4 separate regions of the Homo sapiens genome follow, and all the other regions are linked to region 2. Evidence: promoter capture Hi-C in 16 types of primary human blood cells and fetal thymus (Javierre and others, 2016). All regions are on one chromosome and are shown on one strand. The core of a region is centred on a gene start or on the middle of the fragment in contact, and the rest is flanking DNA. Distances in the headings are between cores, read along the strand shown.

What was found. The method cuts DNA at HindIII sites, captures the fragments that hold promoters and counts their contacts. A CHiCAGO score of 5 or more calls a contact.
Region 1: a fragment that was not itself captured here is called in contact with the fragment with the promoter of COMMD9 in region 2 in 3 of 17 cell types (erythroblasts, M2 macrophages and M1 macrophages); the score reaches 6.7 in erythroblasts.
Region 3: a contact is called between a fragment that was not itself captured here and the fragment with the promoter of COMMD9 in region 2, in 1 of 17 cell types (fetal thymus). The highest score is 5.4, in fetal thymus.
Region 4: a fragment that was not itself captured here is called in contact with the fragment with the promoter of COMMD9 in region 2 in 1 of 17 cell types (M0 macrophages); the score reaches 6.0 in M0 macrophages.

What each region holds. Positions count from the first base shown.
Region 1 is chr11:35,818,315-35,821,014 of GRCh38, reverse strand. No RefSeq gene overlaps it. Among named protein-coding and RNA genes, the nearest start is that of LDLRAD3, 120 kb to the left of the region's middle. The HindIII fragment of the contact is 2,076 bases long and covers 409-2,484 here.
Region 2 is chr11:36,288,032-36,290,731 of GRCh38, reverse strand. COMMD9 (COMM domain containing 9) reads left to right here and starts at 1,308. Exons shown (of 6, transcript NM_014186.4): 1 at 1,308-1,370. The coding sequence starts at 1,320. RefSeq lists enhancers at 1,158-1,407, 1,244-1,946. The HindIII fragment of the contact is 8,947 bases long and covers 991-2,700 here.
Region 3 is chr11:36,749,440-36,752,139 of GRCh38, reverse strand. The region is part of intron 3 of LOC107984326 (a long non-coding RNA gene); the gene reads right to left. Among named protein-coding and RNA genes, the nearest start is that of RAG2, 150 kb to the right of the region's middle. RefSeq lists an enhancer at 1,246-1,816. The HindIII fragment of the contact is 1,517 bases long and covers 581-2,097 here.
Region 4 is chr11:35,800,636-35,803,348 of GRCh38, reverse strand. All of the region lies in intron 4 of TRIM44 (tripartite motif containing 44), which reads right to left. Among named protein-coding and RNA genes, the nearest start is that of TRIM44, 140 kb to the right of the region's middle. The HindIII fragment of the contact is 2,248 bases long and covers 294-2,541 here.

The DNA of each region.
Region 1 (2,700 bases), core at 197-2,696, 470 kb after region 2:
TCGTGAGATGGGATTATACTGAGAACCAGGGTATCGTTCAACAATGTTCCTTGATCTCTTCCTCATTAGGGCTTGTGCCTCTTCAGAGTTTGGCTGGAGTGACACAAATCCACTCTTCCCAGTTAAAGATAAGTCATCCTGATTAGCTTCCCAGAGAATGTTCTGTGATTGCAGGAAGGAAAGTTGTGATTGCCAATCTGAACTTGGAGGCCTCAGTGATTTTCGGAAGCACTGTTTGCTGGGCTGAGTCAGCAGAGACAAACCTAACCTTGATTTTCTGGAGAGTGTTCTTCTACAAGGACAGATCCTCAGACACTTAGCCCGTCCCCTATTAATGAATACTGACGTCATTACCACATTTTTTGCCCTTAAAAGCAATGCTACATGATCATTCTTATGCAAAAAGCTTTGTACCTATGTCATATTTCTTTCAGGAAGATTTCTAAAAATGGGGTTGGATACCACCAAATTTCCTATCCAATAACCTGTTTTATTACTACACCAATCAAGTTATGATAATGATGCTAATATTGATAACTATTTCATTTCTTGATAACTTACTATTTGCCAGGTACGGTTTTAAGCACTTTTCACCCATTATCTTATTTGATCCTCTTATCAACCCAGTGTGGCAAGTTCTATTTTGGAGATGAGGAAATGGAGGCAAAGGGCATATAAGTTACTGGTTTAAAATGACTTAGTAAATGCCAGACCCAGGCATTCTGATCTAGAATGCCTCCCATTATTCACTCAAAGACAACTTACCTCTATTTCAAGAATAGAGAGCTTGGGCAAAAGGCAGCCACTGGGCTTAGTGAAGTTGGCCACTTCACCTGGGAAAGGAAGACAACTGGAAACATTTAATTGGAAAAGTTTTTATTGGAAATCTTGAGCCTTCATTAATAAATCTTTGATGTTGATATAAAAATCCAAGTTCAAGGTCACAAAAGGATTTCACTTCAGCTGTACCTATGCAACCTCCTTTTAAAATGCATAATTCAATCAACACAGTTCTACTTAACCTCTGCCAAACAACTGGCTGAACTGATTTTTTTTCCAGTTAAATTAACTGGTTGTCTTGGTGGTTTTGTCATGTTAGGCTGAGTATTGTGAAGTGAGATGGTGGGTTGATCCAATTCAAGGCCATACTTTGGTTGTGCATTTCTAAAAACAAAGTCACTTGATAGGTGTGAAACATCACAATGAAAACTGGGAGCCAATCAGGCAATAGCTTTTTCCAGGCATGTTTGTTGTCCATGAGCTCTTCTAGATGAAGCTCCTTTATTTCTGGGAGAGGAGTAGGAGGAAGCTGAGGAAAGGGATGAGGAAGAGACAGGAAAGAGAGCTGCCCCAGTAAGTGGGGATATTTATTCTTTATCATTGCTAAATGCTCTTGTTACCTTCTGGTGGGTCTAATAATCTCCTAAGAAAATACCACTCTTGTGTCTCTTCTTACTTGGAAGTTCATGAACTCTGTACGAGACAGCCGGTGACCACATGGGGAGTGTTGTGATCTGGGTGTCACGCATACTTTCTAGATGAGGAGTGGGCTCCTCACTAAATCACCAGCCTGATCACCACACACACAACATATGACCAGTTTGTTGGGGGAGGGGGTTGCAGTGCTGCAAAAACCTCACTAATGAGATGGACAAAACTGCACTTCCAAGAACTCCTTTCAGGGAGGTAATTGTATGGGATTGGAAGAAATAATTTGAAAGCCATTTGGAAGTGGATAGGGTGAGACCCCAAAAAGGTTAGGCTGGAATAACAACAGATGGTCCCTAAATGGTCTTCTAAAAAGAGGGCCCGGGCTTTTATTTCTGTGAGTGTGGTAAGCAGGTGGGGACACAGACTCCAGCTCCCTACCCCACACCTGCCTCCATCTTCTCTAAATAAATGTTGACCTAATATCTAAACAATAGCAGTTTGGAGGGGTGCCAAGTCATTATTCTTCCTGATATGCCTATATTTCCCTCTGGTGTTGCACACACACACCTACTCTTACTACACCTCCCACCCCCATGTTGCTGCCTGTCACACACTGATAGCCCCACAAGGCACCTGACGGTTCCTCTGATGCCTCAGGCTAACATATCAGGGAAGGCATTTGAGAATGTTTCATGGTGAACACTGTTAAGAGGCCAGATACAAACTGCCACCTTTAGTGGCCTTCCACCTCAGTTTCCCAGTCACCATTCGTTTGAGTCAAGAGGCTTCCCATGCACAAGGCTTACTGGGCACCTGAATACCCTGGTGATCAGTATATCGATGCGGTAGAGATCTTAATCAAGCAGGTCAGTGCTGTTTTATTCTTTACTATCACTCAAGAGTATGACAATAGTGAGCCTGGAATGTAACCTGGAAAAGAGAACCAGGAGGGAGGGAGGAAAGAAGAGAGAGAGAGAGAGGAAGAGAGAGAGAACCATAGCTTGTCAGCGCTGCACCCCATATTACCGACGGCACCACACTGACAAAGAAGCTTGCACTATGCTGAACGTTAATGTCTGTGCAAGTCCTGAGACAGAGAATTGCAGCCTATCAAACTCTTCCCTTTAGAATCAAGGGAGAAACCTTGGGATGTCTCCTAGAATGTTCTAATGTGGGCTCTTGAGTCACTAAACAGACATTCTCTTCTGGGATGCAGTGGTCAAATATGGAGAACTCAGCTTTCCCAATAGCCAGGTGACCTTAAGCAAA
Region 2 (2,700 bases), core at 59-2,558:
GGGTGGTTGTTTATTTAACAAATATTCAATTAACCCAAGACAATGGGCCCAGCCCTATAGATACAGGCAGGAGTTAAACCTAGAACCTACATTGAGTTATAACAGAAACCAGGAATCAGGCCATGAGGGTTCATGGAAAAGAGAGGCCAAGAAAGAGAGCTAGAATCAGGACCCTGTGACAAAATGGTTCTAAAATCTTCTAATCCAGGAATGGGTTCCTCCTTAGACAATTTGATTTTTGGTTTCCTGGGCCTTGACAACATCCCCACAGAAAATGGAGTCGGGGAAGGGGAAGGGGGAGGAGAGGAGACAAAGGAACAAATGTCCTTAGCAGCTTACCAATTTCTGGAATTTCACAAATGGGCATTCTTTCTTAAGCTCGAATATATCAGAACCCATTTTTTGAGCTGGAATTTGCTTAAAAAAAAGTGGAGGGTAGGAAAAGAAAAGAGCCACCCAAATACTAAAGGTAGATAAAGGAAATGTCTGTTTTGATGTACGGTCTCTGAGAACAGGGCAAATCAGAGTCCAGTACTGCCAGTGCAAAATCACTCTTTACAATTATATTCATTATAATTACCTTTTTGAATAAATGAACTAAATCATTTCCATTAACCTCCTCCCCCATCTCACCCCCGTATAACAAGAACCTAGCTAGGTAGTAGCTTTCATTCCATTCCTCTCTTGTCCCCTCTCCCAAACACTTCCTCACCTGCTCTTGTAATCAGATCTTCTCTATGACTATGGGAAAGTTACTAAAAACCCTAAATGATTATTTCCCAATCTGGATAATACTAATAATACCAGCTCCAACCTACTACATAGGCTGAAAAACTATATACGCAGAAGTAATTTTACATTCAAGACAGGATGTGTGCATGTGTGTGTGTCAATTCCAAGAAGCCCGATATGCACAGCCTCATTTTCATTCCAAACACTGGTACGCCGATCACTCCTGAACAACTACGTTTCCAAGGCGCCTGCCAAGCTTGCAGGTGCATTCCCCAAGTGCGCCAGCCCACCCACATGGGTCAAGGGAAAACCTGTTTCCCTGACTTGGTAAGTAGACAAGTCAAGCCAATTTCCTCCCCGAGTAAACCATCCTCCGCCCTGGTCCCCCTAGTCCTTTGGTTCTAGAGTCTCGGGGTTTAGTCATCCAGCCGCCGCGTCCGTCTTGATCCGCGCTCACTGCCGCAGCACCACAACCGAAACGCCTTCCCCCACTCTGAAGGACTACAGCCCCCGGCAGGCCCCGCGACAACAGCGACAGCCACGTGACCTCGCTTCCCTGGGTGCCACGGTCATGTGACTTCGGCAAGATGGCTGCCCTGACAGCGGAGCATTTTGCAGCACTCCAGAGCCTGCTCAAGGTAAGTCGAAGGGGTGGGGACAGCGTGAGGTGGCCCTTTGTCTCCGAGACTTTAGACGGAGCAGGAATTGGGAACAAATTGACCCTGGTTTGGAGCCACAACTCTGCTGCTTGTTCTCTGTGTGATCCCAGGCAAATCGTTGCGTCTTTCTGAGCTTTTAAAAAGTAAGAACAAAATATCGTTTTGACAGGAACGTAAGATAAAAAAAAATAAAATAATGGGCATGAAGGCGCAGTACAACCTCCTGCTATTAGTCTTTGGGATTGGTTTTCGGTATTGGTGCATTGAAGTGGTAATTGCTAGACCCACGTTGTCAGTTCCCCATTTCATCCCGTAGCCCCTCCTGCATTGCACAATTAAGAAATTATCTCCTACTGCGTCTGCCCAGCCCTCCGAATGACCTGTGCGTTCAATGTTCCCTTGAGGTCCAGATTTTCCCTACTCTCTTTGACCTGCGAAAGGGGCAGGACATACTCCTGATAATCATTTGAAAAGTTGTGAGGTTGAAAGGGACCTACTTCATAGGGCTTTGTAAAGCTCAAATGAAGTATTATTATTATTTGAGACGGAGTCTAGCTCTGTTGTCCAGGCTGGAGAGCAGTGGCGCAATCTCGGCTCACTGCAACCTCCGCCCCCCGAGTTCAAGCAATTCTATGCCTCAGCCTTCCGAGTAGCTGGGATTACAGGCGCCCGCCACCAAGCCTGGCAAATTTATGTATTTTTAGTAGAGACGGGGTTTCAACATCTTGGCCAGGCTGGTCTTGAACTCCTGACCGCGTGATCCACTCGCCTCCGCCTTCCAAAGTGTTGGGATTACAGGCGTGAGCCACCGCGCCTGGCCGGAATTATTTAACTTATGATTTGCCCTGTAGGAGAAAGGGCAGCTTTATTTTCCTTCGTAGAACTTGTCGCTAGCTATTTGCCCGTTGTCCGTCTGTCTCATAAGAATGTAAGATCCATCAGGGACCTTTCCTTTCTTCCTCTCTCTTTTTTTTTTTTTTTAAACACCAGGTGAAGAGGGTTGAGTTACTCTCCTCAATTTATGGCACATCATCATCATCGGTCCATGTAATAGTCTCTGTTTTGTTTTACTTATTTATTTTTTAATTGCCTTCTCAGTGTTCATTAGCATTCTCCACTCCTAAGGGGATCTACTCTTTTGTTCACAAGTGTTAATGCCCAATAAGTAGAACAATAATACCTGGCACACAGCACGTGCTCAGTAAATAGCTGTTAAATGAATTAATAAATGAAGTAACAGAGCTGGGACTGGCAATCTAGGGCTCTCAGCTCCCAACCCAGTGCCTTTTCACCTTCATTTTGGCTGCTC
Region 3 (2,700 bases), core at 90-2,589, 460 kb before region 2:
TATGGTTGTTGTAAAGGTTCAAGAACATGTGTTTAAAACACATATCCCAGTGCCTGACACTTAATGAATGGTAGCAATTGTTACCGGTAATAAATCAGCATATCTGTGCTCTCTCCTGTCACCTTCTCCCTCTCTCTCTCTCTCTCTATCTCTCTCTCAACTTGTACCTACCATAACCACACTGCTGTTTTTTGCTTTGGATGCCTACATGACCAGTTGGTCTCTCAAAAAAAATTTATCAACTAAGACCAGGTGCTGAGCAATAAACTAGGTCATATTCCAGACACCACTATTACTGTTGTCAGCAATAACTGATTTCAGCTTTCTGACATACATTTGGCTATTTTGTGTCCTGCTAACATCAGGGAGCAATCTTACATTGGGGACCCTTCCCTCCCTAATGGAAACATTTGGAGAAAGTGGGAGGAAATTGCTATAAAGTGAGCATAGAACAGAACAGCTGGAAGCGGCCTCCTAATAGGCAGTTTTTCATGTTTTGACAGGTTTGAAGCAGACTATGACAGCAAAAGGGGTACACACAGGGACAGCGTAGCAGACAGCACTTCCTGGAATGGAAGCTTCTGCAGGCTTCCAGATGTAGCTGCTGTCCTTACCCCGCGTGTTTATAGTGGCTCCAAAGTCCCCTTCCTGGGGACTCCTAGGGACATACATCATTGTCAGTTTAGCTGCCAAGTCCAGCTCCAGAAAGGCACCTGGAAAAGGCAGCACAGCTAATGAAAGCAAGGCAATCAAGAGAAAAAGACAGCTGGGCTGGGGGCCAAGGGGCCTAGGGTCTGGCTTCCATCCTTCCACTAAGTGAACTTTGGCAAGTCTTCTTTCCACTAAGGGTCTCAGTTTCCTATCAGCAAAAAGGCTGTCCTGAGCCCTCTTCCCACAAGAGGAATGCTGTCAATAAAAGCAATAAAAGGTGCTTGCTCTATTTATCTGTACTTTCTACTTTTTCTACATGTACACATATCATTTGTGGGAATGTGTATTTTCTACTTCTTAGGTGTGTGTATATGTATATATGTGTGTGTGTGTGTGTGTGCACACACACTTAAGAGGTAAAACACTAATATTAGCTTATTTTATTTAATAATTTATTTATTGTATTTATTTCTACACACACTTAGGTAGAAGAAAATTAGCTTATTTACTTATTATTTTTCTACCTCTTAAGTGTATGTGTATACACACACACACACACACACATATATAGTGTGTGTTTGTAGTCATTTGTTATGGAAGTCATAGAAAACCAAAACACAACTCTAAGAGTACACACGCACTTAAGAGGTAGAAAAATAATAAGTAAATAAGCTAATATTTACTGGGCATTTCTTACATGCCAAGGATTGTAATAAATACTTTATATTCATTATCTCATGAGAAGGAGCCAACTGGACACACCTGCTGCTATTTGCTACCCAGCATCCATTCCCCCTCTCTCCTGATAATGCTCTAAATTTCCCTATGAAAAGCAACCCCTCATTGCCATTTGCCCTCATGTGGTTTTGTGGCAATGACCTCAACCCCAGTTCCAGGGGTGGATCTTGATTGGCTTAATCAGTTTACACACCCTCTGTTCCTCACCACAGTGACTGGTTGGTTCTCTGATTGGGCCGACAAGACCTCAGCAGTACAGTCAGAAGAAACCTCAGTAATTCACCATGAATGTTGAGATCATCTCTTTCATTCCTGCAGAGCTTGAACATGGAGCACATGGCCCCATTATGTGCCAGCAGACACTTTGGGCACATCAGAAGATATCCTTCCAAGTTGAGAGCCATTAATGAGGACACAGAGCACAGAAGTAAAGAATGAGAAAACGGGCTCAAGATCCCAGACCAAGCACTGCCTTACGCTACTATGGCTCCTGGACTTTATTGCTCAAATAATTTGATTTCAATTTTTTGGTTTTGTGCAAAACCAAAACATGCCTTATCAATGTAGGCAAGTGTTATTATCAATACCATTTTATAGATTAGGAAACTGAGTCTCAGTGGAGCTAATCCACTTGCCCTAAGTTACACAGTAAGTTTGTAGTGGAAACACCATTTGAAACCAGGTCCAACTGGGTTAAAAACCCAAGCTTCTTAAGCACTATATTTTGCTACCATAGGTAGGGAAAACTGGAAATACCTTGAAAATGAGAACATTTTATAAAATGCAACCTTTCATTATTTCAGGAGTAGATTTCGAATCATCACCTCAAACCCCAATTGAAATGGTCTCGCTTTGTCACCTAGGCTGGAGTGCAGTGATGCGATCATAGCTCTCTGCAACCTCAAACTCTTGGGCTCAAGCGATCCTCCCACCTCAGCCTACCAAGTAGCTGAAGCTATACCCCTGTGCCTGGCTATTTTTTTTTTAAGAGATAGGGTCTCACTTTAATACCCAAACTGGCCTCGAACTCCTGGGCTCAAGCCATCCTCCCACCTTAGCCTCCCAAAGTACTAGTATTACAGGCATAAGAAACCATGCCTGACCTAAATTTTGAGCCACTGAGTTTGTAATAATTTGTTATGGCAGTCATAGAAAATCAATACACAACTCTAAAATAAAAGATTAAGCAAAAAAAAAAAGATTTCTTATTTTAAAAATTTGGCAAAGGAAAGCAAGCTGAGATCTTTATCTCCATAAAGGATGAAAAGGAGGTGAAGATCAGTAGCATTCCTTTTTGTAGCAAAGTAACAT
Region 4 (2,713 bases), core at 168-2,667, 490 kb after region 2:
CTGCCAGTCACACTTAGACTTACAACTGGAGTGGGACTCAGAGGTTAATGGCTGTTTCATTTTTTTTTTTTTTTTTAAATAAACTAAGGGTGTTAGGCAGACAGCACGTTCTATAGCAGGTACTTACCAATGAGAGAGGCAGCATTACATAATTACTTTTGTGTCACCAGACTGAACTAGGTTCAAATGCCTGTTATTAACTAATAAACTGTGGGATCTTACGTAAGTCACTAACATCTCTGAATCTCAGTTTCCTCATCGAAATGCTATCTTCCAGGGTTACTGTGAAAGCTTTATGTATTTTATGCAATACAAATGATAAAAAATGTTACCCTTCTTCCTCAACCCACCTTCCTTCTTATCCTGAATAAAAACCTGCCTCCTCCTGCCTTTCCCTCAAATGTTCCTAGCTCTGGCAGCTGAAACATTACATTCCAGAACAAGTGTGTTCCTATCCCCAAATACCCTTCAAATATCTGGAGAGCAACAGTATCCTGCTTTGCTCACTTGGAGAGTTTTTTAAATGACAACCCAGACCTAATGAAATACAGGTACTAACTAGAAAGGCTGAGTATCACTCTGACCCTTCTAGGTGGCAGGTCTCAAGAAAAGTCATGCCTGCCAAACACTGGGGAGAACAAATACGGAGTGAAGTTTAGTTAACCGGCCTTAGCTCGGTCACTGATCTAGTTTGAGGGTACTGCTGTATCTAAAAGTGGTGGCCTTAAAACTGGGGTATGGATACCCTTGTGGTATGTAATTACTTTCCAGGAAGTATTTGGGCCTGGGTAGTTTTAAGAAAATTAATGTCCAAATCCTTAACTTCCATATATACTGCTTCCTAAAACTTACCTTCTCAGAAACATGCCTGTGCTCTGTAAGGTTCTTGTTTCAGCCACTCCCACTTTACAGATCACCATACTCCCACACTTCCGCAGAAATGCTACTCTCACTCACCCTTCTGAATCTTAGCATGTAACAATTTTAGAATGTCTCCCTTAGAGGAGTCCTATGAGAGAACCGCAAGCAATAGTAAAGGAGACAATCTCTTTTTTCATTCAGGCAGGAAACTCTTGGCAAGGCTGTGTGTTTTATCTATCTATCCATCGATCTAACACTTCAAATTCAAAAGTGAGGTGGTTATCATGAGGTGTGTGCTAATGTTTATTTGTATTGAAAAAAATGAAATCAGACTTAATCTGACAGAAAGCAAGTCTGATTTGGCTGGATGGTTTGACCACCAAAATTGGCTTTGCCAATTAGATTATATAGTGCACCTTTGCTTGTAAATTTAATAAGCTAAATTCACAGTGCCAAAGTTTTGACAAAAATATATATAAAAACTCATATAAACTACACAATATGTCAGTGAGCACACCCTTAGCAACGATTTACACTTGATACTATGATTTCAGGAATTAATTTAAAAACGGGCAAAAAGGCACATACTTTTAAAATTTCTTTTAGGGGATGTAAAACAAAAAAGTTTAGCTAAAGGAACTGGGAGCTCCTAAATTCTGACCAGGAGGATGGTGTGAAATTTAACACTTTCTTGGTTGTGGGTAGGGGATGGGGTGACAGAATGAGACTAAGGCATTCCAGTAAGCAGAATGCTGTATCCCTTCTCTGAGTTGGGCTTACTGTCTGATGTGGTGCCTGTGAAACTGAAATGTCAGAGGCATGCCATAAGCTCCACATTCAGACCCTAAACACCTGCTGATAAAATGATTATATTTTATCATAATCATTTTACAGTGTTTCACTGTGACCATTTTTTAGTTAGGCTGCATATATAGGCAGCTTAGCTTTTTGGCTTCTGTCCCCAGAGCTTTAGGGGCATAAAGGGGAAGTTAATAAATCAGGTAGCAGGCATTCTGACTTTGCAAGTTTAATAGTTTCTTTTCCTAAGCATATAGTACAACTTAATGTGACTTGGCATCACTCATGTCTTCTGAGTTCTTGGTTATCTATTAATTGATTATTGCTGTAAAAGGATTATTTAACTCAGGAGGATGGTGGAATTAAGAGGTATTGACAAGGAACGAAGGCTAGAGTCAGCTGAAATTCAAAAAGATAGATTTAATATTCTCCAAAAATTACACTGCCTGGGCATTGTACAAGGAGCCAATTGGGAAGTCTCACACTTTCAGTATCTGAGGAAGTGGTTGCCTAGTTGCAGTAAATATGCGATCAGCACTGCTGGGGAGACAGACTAAACACTCGGATCCAGGGACCTTTCTTTACTAGACAGAGCGAGTTGCCTTCTTTGTCCCCTCTGTCCCACACTCACCTGCCCCAACAGCCTGAGCTGAAAATAAGGAGGTTACTGTGCTTTAAGGGATCTGAACTTTACAAAATAAAGTAAAATGTCCTTGGTCTATTTTGGGCTAACTGAGAAAAACATGATGAAAATACCAGAGTTCTAGTCCTGGTTCTGCTGTGTGACTCTAGGACCCAGTATCCTTATCTGGGAAATTAGGATGCCTTGCATTTTAAGCAAAGTTTAGGAAAACTCCAAACCAGACAAAAACTAAGAAAGCTTCCCTCCAACATATAGACTTGCTGAGCTAATTAATTTGCTCTCATTCATACAGCTGTCTCTCTTTGCTTCCTGTGCCCCTCTCTATCCCATCACCACAATCTGAAGGATGGCCTAAATGTTCCAAGTCCTTTCACCTCTTTCTGGCTGGGCCCAAATACTGGGTTGATGCCC